2 separate regions of the Homo sapiens genome follow, and region 1 is linked to region 2. Evidence: promoter capture Hi-C in 16 types of primary human blood cells and fetal thymus (Javierre and others, 2016). All regions are on one chromosome and are shown on one strand. The core of a region is centred on a gene start or on the middle of the fragment in contact, and the rest is flanking DNA. Distances in the headings are between cores, read along the strand shown. Region 1 has its middle 3.1 kb from the start of RNU5B-1. Region 2 holds the start of RAB11A (RAB11A, member RAS oncogene family).

Region 1 (4,100 bases), core at 1,288-3,787, 560 kb after region 2:
TCATGATTCTCTTGGGCAGAAGCAGTTGCTCCCTCCTCTCTCCTTCTGCAACCCTTCGCCTCATTTTCCTGCTTGCTGCAATCTGTTAGAGTTCACTGTGAGGCTCTTACTGCCCCTGTATATCCAGGCCCAGTAGAGAAGCCCAGGCCCAGGGCCCAGCAGAGAAGCTTCTCCATAAATATTTGTCAAATAAATCGTAACTCAACTGAAATCAGTCTGCCTTGTGGTCAATTTTACATTTTATTTATTTATTTATTTACAGATAGAGTCTTACTCTGTCGCCAGGCTGGAGTGCAGTGGCGTGATCTCGGCTCACTACAACCTCTGACTCCCTGGTTCAAGCAATTCTCCTGCCTCAGCTTCCCAAGTAGCTGGGACTACAGGCATATGCCACCACACCCAGCTAATTTTTGTATTTTCAGTAGAGATGGGGTTTTACCATGTTGGCCAGGCTGGTGTCAATCTCCTGACCTCATGATTCACCCGCCTCGGCTTCCTAAAGTTCTGGGATTACAGGCATGAGCCACCACGCCTGGGCTTTTTTTGTTTTTTGAAACAGAGTATTGCTCTTGTTGCCCAGGTTGTAGTGCAATGGCGCGATCTCTGCTCACCGCAACCTCCACCTCCCAGGTTCAAGCGATTCTCCTGCCTCAGCCTCCCGAATAGCTGGGATTACAGGCATGCACCACCATACCAAGCTAATTTTGTATTTTTAGTAGAGATGGGGTTTCTCCATGTTGGTCAGGCTGGTCTCGAACTCCTGACCTCAGGTGATCCGCCCACCTTGGCCTCCTAAAGCGCTGGGATTACAGGTGTGAGCCACTGTGCCCGGCCTTATTTATTTATTTACTTACTTACTTATTTTTGAGACAGAGCCTCACTCTGTTACCCAGGTTGGTGTGCAGTGGTGTGATCTCAGCTCACTGCAACCTCTGCATCCTGGGTTCGAGCGATTGTCCTGCCTCCGCCTCCCAAATAGTTTGGACTACAGGCGCCCACCACCACACCCAGCTAATTTTTGTATTTTTAGTAGAGATGGGGTTTTACCATGTTGGTCAAGCTGGTCTCGAACTACTTTTTTCTTTTTCTTTTTGAGAGAGAGTCTCCCTCTGTCACTCAGGCTAGAGTAGAGTGGCAGAATCTTGGCTCACTGCAACTTCCACCTCCCAGGTTCAAGCAATTCTCCCACCTCAGCCTCCTGAGTAGCTGGGATTACAGGCACACACCATCATGCCCAGCTAATTTTTGTATTTTAGTAGAGACAGGGTTTCACCATGTTAGCTAGGCTGGTCTCAAACTCCTGACCACAAGCAATCCATGTGCCTTGGCCTCCCAAAGTATTGGGATTATAGGCATGAGCCATTGCACCTGGCCAATTTTACCATTTTTTAAAATTATTCTTTTAGAGACAGGGTCTCACTATTTCACCTAGGCTGGTCTCGAACTCCCAGCCTCAAGTGATCCTCCCAATTTGGTCCCCTAAGTAGCTGGGTTTACAGCCACCACTCCTGGCTCAGTTTCACATGTGAAAGAAAAGTCCGGGTGGGGCACGATGGCTCACGCCTGTAATGCCAGCACTTTGGGAGGCTGAGTCAGTGGGATCGCTTGAATCCAGGAGTTTGAGACTAACCTGGGCAACATGGTGAGACTGTCTCTACAAAACAATTCAAATAGCTGGGCGTGGTGGTGCATGCCCGTAGTCCCAGCTACTCAGGAAGCTGAAGTAGGAGGATCACTTGAGCCTGATAGGTAGAAGCTGCAGTCAGCCATGATTATACCACTATACTCCAGCCTGGTTGATAGAGGGAGACCCTGTCTCAAGAAAAAAAAGGAAAAGTCCTACATCCAAAACTGAATTGAGGCCGTGCGCAGTGGCTCACGCCTGTAATCCCAACACTTTGGGAGGCTGAAGTGGGCAGATCACTTGAGGTCAGGAGTTCGAGACCAGCCTGGCCAACATGGTGAAACCCCAGCTCTACTTAAATACAAAAATTAGTTGGTCATGATGGGGTGCACCTGTAATCCCAGCTACTCCAGAGGCTGAGGCACGAGAATCACTTGAACCTGGGAGGCGGAGGTTGTGTGAGCCAAGATTGCATCATTGCACTGCAGCCTGGATGACAGAGCAAGACTCCTTCTCAAAAATAAATAAATAAATAAAAATAATTATAAATATTAGAAAGGAAAAATTGAAAAAAATCCCCAGATAATGAGATTATATAGGTAGAAAACTGAAAATAATCTACACATAGATTAAAGTTAATAAATCAAGTAAGGTTGCCAGATGTAAGATCCCATACAGGTTCACTGAATTTCTATAAAACCGCAGTGTACAGTTAGGAGATATTATTTTAGAAATTAATAAAAAGTGTGAGATTTTTAGTAGAAAAATTATAACACTTTACTGAAAGATAATGAAGACCTGGGCACGGTGGCTCACGCCTGTAATCCCAGCATTTTGGGAGCCCGAGACAGGCAAATCACGAGGTCAGGAGTTCGATACCATCCTGGCCAACATGGTGAAACCGCGTTTCTACTAAAAATACAAAAATTAGCTAGGCGTGGTGGCAGGCACCTGTAATCCCAGCTACTTGGGAGGTTGAGGCAGGAGAATCGCTTGAACCTGGGAGGCAGAGGTTGCAGTGAACCGAGATCGCACCACTGCACTCCAGCCTGGGCGACAGAGTGAGACTGTCTCAAAAAAATAAAGAATAAAAAAAAATGAAGACCTAAACATATGGAGAGACAAATCATGTCCATTAATAAGATAAAGATTCAATTCTCCCTAATCAATCTATAGATTTAATTCAGACGCAATAGGGATTTTCATGGAAATTGACAAGACAATTCTAAACATTTTTGGAAGAAGAAAGTTTAGCCAAGTTACTATTAAAAAGAAAACAAAGTAGAGAGATGACACCCACCAGATTTTAAGTCTTATTATAAACTCATAGTAATTAGGATGTGCAATATTGGCTCAAGTTTAGACAAACAGACCCATGGACACATGTCACTGCATATCCCTAGGGAAAGGAGGTACCAAGTCAATACACAGTGCTGGACAATTGCCAATCATTTCCAGGGGAAAAATAACACCAGATTCACACTTCACACTATACATAAAAATTCAATTCCAGAGGAATCAAGGACTTAATATGAAAGACATCACTTAAAAAGATACAGAATTTATTTAATAATTTGAGGTGGTGAGTTGTTTATTAAACAAAACACACAAAAGTACAAATGAGAATGAAGAAAAAAAACAAATCAATCTGACATTAAAACCAGTCACCAAGAGACTCTATAAGAGCAAAAAGAGAAGCTGTAAACTGGGAGAAGGTAATTGCACCATATAACCAACAAAGAATTACTATTTAAAGTCTCTGAAGTCTAGAAGCTGTGCAAAAAACTACTATACCCACTAAGAAAAAGATTCGCCATCTAAGAAAAAAATGGGCAAAAGGCACAAACAGGCATTTTACAGGAGAAACTATGAATGGCCAAAAAATCTTTGAAAAGATGTTCAACCTCATTAGTAATTAGGGAGATGTACATTAAAATTACTATAATGCTGGAAGATTAGACATTTGTAAAGGAAAAAAAAAAAAAAAAAGCCAGGCACAATGGCACACACCTGCAATCCCAGCATTTTGGGAGGTCGAGGTGGGAGGATAACTTGAGCTCAGAAGATCCAGAGCAGCTCACCCTGGGCAACATGGAGAAATCCTGTCTCTACAAAAAGCATAAAAACAAAATAAAAATTTTTAAAAATCAGCCAGTGTGGTGGTGCACGCCTGCAGTCCCAGCTGCTTGGGAGACTGAGGTGGGATCACTTGGATCAGGAAGTTGAGGCTGCAGTGAGAGGATATCATGCCGCTGCACTCCAGCCTGTGTGATAAAGCCAGACCCTGTCTCAAAAACTAAAGTAACATTTAAAAACCACTAAAAGTTACAATTTCATAACTACCAGATGGACAAAGATTAACTTCTGAGCATTTCTTTTTTTTTACTTTTTTTTTTTTTTTTTGAGATGGAGCTTCACTCTTGTTGCCCGGGCTGGAGTGCAGTGGCACGATCTCAGCTCATTGCAACCTCTGCCT
Region 2 (4,115 bases), core at 446-2,945:
GCAAAGTATTGGGAAAGCAAAGAAATCTTTCCTGCTTGGTTTAGTCAATCATTCTTAGCACCCAATGGCAAAGACAGAAACAGTCACCATGCTTAACACTCTTGAAACTCCACCCTCCACAGTAAAGCTTTAATAGCAATGGCTTCTTCCTCAGTGGTAATGATCTTTGTTCGGCACACTACTGATGGCTACCTTCCCAATTCAGGAGCAGAGAAAGAGCATCAGAGTGAGAGTGCATTCACTGAACAAAAAAAGCATCTACTGTACTCTCTTCTCATTGAAAAATGTACCCTTTATCTTCGTTGATTAAAAAAAAAAACCGGATTCCTTCCGGACTCAACCAATAAGCAATTCTTTCTAACCAACCCTGACCCTCCAATATGTTCTGTCCAAGGGCACTACATGTTTCCGTATCTTATAATAAATATTTAATGTAACCAAAAGAGCACACAACTTCCTCCCACCCCCAACCTTTTGGGAAAGGTATGTGGCTAACTAGGGCTCTTCCCTTCCTGTTGGATCCTCCCAGCGTTGCAGCAGGAAGCAACCAGTTCATAGAGATAAAGCAAGCTAGTATTTGTGCAGCGCACAACCTTTCCTGCTCAGGAACCAGGCCTTCAGGTCTGGCAAGGATAACAGCCACCACCCATCCGCAACCTCATCTCGCGAACCGAGTAAAGAGTTATCCCGGGTTGGGTGCCACTGAGTAGGGAGGGCAAGAAAAGAAAAGGCTAGGTGGGAAGTAATGTCAGCCTGCCGGGTCACTGCGACAAGTGCGCGAGTGGGTGATGGGCGATCCCTCTTACCCTCCCTCCCACCACCCAGGTCGCAACGGAGACAAGGGAGCTCTAAACACGATTTGGGGAGGGAAGGTAGAGAGAGTTGCCAAATGGGGAGTGGGAGAGGGAGCGGTCAGAGAAGGTTAAGGACCGCGAGAACCGCGGGGCGGAGGGTGGGGGCGGAGGCCCTTGGCCCGCTCAGATTTTACGGGGTCCTGGACCCGGGATGGGAGAAGCTTAGAGGGGCGGCCGTCCAAGTGGAGGGGAGATACAGAAGAGACGCTCGCTCGAGGGGGGAAAGAGGGCAGATAAGAAAAAGACCTGTAATGGGAGTCTGCACCGAAGGCAAGGCCAAGAGGGAAGCGAAGAACCCGTCAGAGGGGCTTCGGGAGAGGACGCGAGCTGGGAAGGGTGTACGCCGAGGGGGAGGGGGCGCTACACCCGAAAAGAGAGATGGTGGGAGGAGCGGCGGGGCCGTAGAACCCGGGGAAAGGAATTCGACGATGTGGGAGAAGGCAGTCCGCCAGGGGAAGGACACGCAGGGAGGGGCTCTGAGGCCAGCGAAGGCCTATGGAGAGGTCGCTCAGAGAGCGGCATGTGATGGGGACCCCTGTCTGAGCGGGGGAGAAGAGGCTGAGCTGGGTAGGAGACGGAACCGCACAAAAAGGAAGGGCTGAGGGAGGCCTATATCAGTGCAGGGGTGGCCGGCACGAGGGTCCACCGGGAGTGGCCCGGGTCCCCGAACGAGGACTGTGTAGAGTGCGAGAGCCCATGGCCTCACCTTTAAAGAGGTAGTCGTACTCGTCGTCGCGGGTGCCCATTGCGCGGCCGAGGAGCGAAAGGGCGGGAGCAGCAGTGGTATCTGTGGGACCAGGGGGCGTCGCTGCAGGGGTAACCCGAGCGCCGAGCTTCAACTGCCGGACTGGGTGAAGAGCCCCTCCCTGCCGCTGCGCCATTTCCGGCAGGCCCCAGCCTTTAAGGGGAAGTACTTCCGGGGGCGGCGCCCCGCCCCTGAGCCCAACAAGGGCGGTGTGCGCGAGAGTCGAGATGCGTGGGGCTTCAAGCTTTAGTCGCTAAAGGAGGCTCAAAGGGGAAACTGAGTCCTGGAACTCCTAGCTACCATAGTCTTAGTGGCCGCTTGCTCATTTCTCGAGCTACCGTGCCGGAAGCGGCTCGCTGGAACCAGGCGGGACCGCCTGTGAGTGGTGGGTTTGTGGATGGGGGCGGGGTTCTCTGAGGATTAGACAGCCGAAGGCAGCTACACATGCGTGGCGGTTCCATGGTGTAATGGTTAGCACTCTGGACTCTGAATCCAGCGATCCGAGTTCAAATCTCGGTGGAACCTGCATTGGTTTTTGTTTTTTTAATCTTGACAACATCTTTAATTCACTTTTTTGGTCACTAAGTAATTGAACAACTATGACACATCTTAAGATGGAGATGTAAAATTTAATCCTTGCCTATGAAGACCTCACAAATTTCCCACTGCATTTCAGGTGCTATCTGCTACCTGGCGGGGGGTTGTCTTAATGAGCTTCTTCACTGCCTTTTTTTTAACCCTGGGCTTTCAAGCCTTGATTCAAAAGCTTCAGTGAAACTTGAAAATTCCTTTTGCTGGAATTTTCTACCTCCAGCTTCATGCACGGGTAGGCGCTTGTCACTCACTCCTCTCCGGAAATCTCGCAATCTATCTCATTTTCATTTAGAGTACTTCGCCCACCCTCCTCATCAAGATTCATCAAGAACTTGAGTCCTATTTGTAGGCCTCTAATCTAAGTCCGTTTACATAAGTATTTCATTTAACATGCCAAGCAAAGGATGGTAATTTCCATTTTAGCGGAAGTTTGGATACTAAGACTCAAGTGATTTGCCAGATATCATGTCGCAGGGCCTCCCTGTATTTGAAGAGAATTTTGTCATTCCAGAAAAGCCTTTATCCAATTATTGTCACACCTCCTACCTCCTATATGCAAACTCTCGATTTAGACTTGTGGGCAAGTATGCCTATAACAAGCAGAATAATGCCCCCTGCCAATGATGTCCACTTCCCAATTCCTGGAGACTGAATAGGTTAGGTTACATGGCAAAGGGGAATTGAGGTTACAGATGAAATTAAGGTTGCTTATCAGCTGACATTAAATTAGGGATATTATCCTGGATTAGTTGGGTGGGCCCAGTGTTGTCATAAGGTCCTTAAAAGTAGAAAATGGGCTGGGCACGGTGGCTCAGGCCTTAATTCCAGCACTTTGGGAGGCCAAGGTGGGTGGATCACCTGAGGTCAAGAGTTCAAGACCAGCCTGGCCAACAAGGTGAAACCCTGTCGCTACTAAAATACAAAAAATTAGTCTGGCGTGGTGGTGGGTGCCTGTAGTCCCAGCTACTCTGGAGGCTTAGGCATGAGAATTGCTGGAACCCGGGAAGCGGAGGTTGCAGTGAGCTGATACCACGCCACTGCACTCCAGCCTGGGCAACAGAGAGAGACTCGTTCTCAAAAAAAAAAAAAAAAAAGTGGAAAATGGAGGCAGAAGAGGTCAGAGTGATGTGACTTGAAAAGACCTCAATCTGCCCTTGCTGGCTTTGAAGATGGAGGAAAGGGCCCAGGAGCCTAGGAATCTGGAGGCTTCTAGAAGCTGGGAAAGGCATGGAAACAGATTCTTCCATAAGGCCCCCAGAAGGAACACAGCCCTGCTGACAACTTGATTTTAGCCCAATGAGACACTTGTCAGACCTGTGACCTACAGAACTTTAAGCAATAAATTTGTGTTGTTTTATGTCACCAAGTTTGTGGTAATTTGTTATAGAAGCAATAGAAAACAAATACAGTGCCAATTTCCGTGCTTTCTCTACTGCTATAAAGTGATAGTAAGTTTATCTAAGGTCCTGTAATCCCAGCTACTCAGGAGGCTGAGGCAGGAGAATTGCTTGAACCAAGGAGATGGAGGTTGCAGAGAGCCGAGATTGCGCCACTGCACTCCAGCCTGGTGACAGAGTAAGACTCCTCAAAAAAAAAAAAAAGAACACTAATGTTTAATTTAGTCTCAAGCATGACTAATAAAAATGGTGTGTTGGTTAATACTGAGTGTCAGCTTGATTGAATTGAAGGATCCAAAGTATTGATCCTGGTTGTGTCTGTGAGGGTGTTCCCAAAGCAGAAACAGTTGAGTCAATGGGCTGGGAAAGGCAGACCCACCCTTAATCCGGGTGGGCACCATCTAATCAGCTGCCAGCGAATATAAAGCAGGCAGAAAAATATGAAAAGGCTAAACTGGCTTAGCCTCCCAGCCTACATCTTTCTCCCGTGCTGGATGTTTCCTGCCCTCGAACATTGGACTGCAA

What was found. Contacts are between HindIII fragments. The CHiCAGO score rates a contact against its expected background, and 5 or more counts as called.
Region 1: a fragment that was not itself captured here is called in contact with the fragment with the promoter of RAB11A in region 2 in 1 of 17 cell types (fetal thymus); the score reaches 8.3 in fetal thymus.

What each region holds. Positions count from the first base shown.
Region 1 is chr15:65,305,740-65,309,839 of GRCh38, reverse strand. No RefSeq gene overlaps it. Among named protein-coding and RNA genes, the nearest start is that of RNU5B-1, 3.1 kb to the right of the region's middle. The HindIII fragment of the contact is 4,735 bases long and covers 170-4,100 here.
Region 2 is chr15:65,867,071-65,871,185 of GRCh38, reverse strand. It overlaps RAB11A (RAB11A, member RAS oncogene family), which reads right to left and starts at 1,695. Exons shown (of 5, transcript NM_004663.5): 1 at 1,561-1,695. The coding sequence starts at 1,600. TRQ-CTG1-4 (tRNA-Gln (anticodon CTG) 1-4) reads left to right here and starts at 2,053; the gene lies at 2,053-2,124. RefSeq lists an enhancer at 1,822-1,881. The HindIII fragment of the contact is 828 bases long and covers 1,018-1,845 here.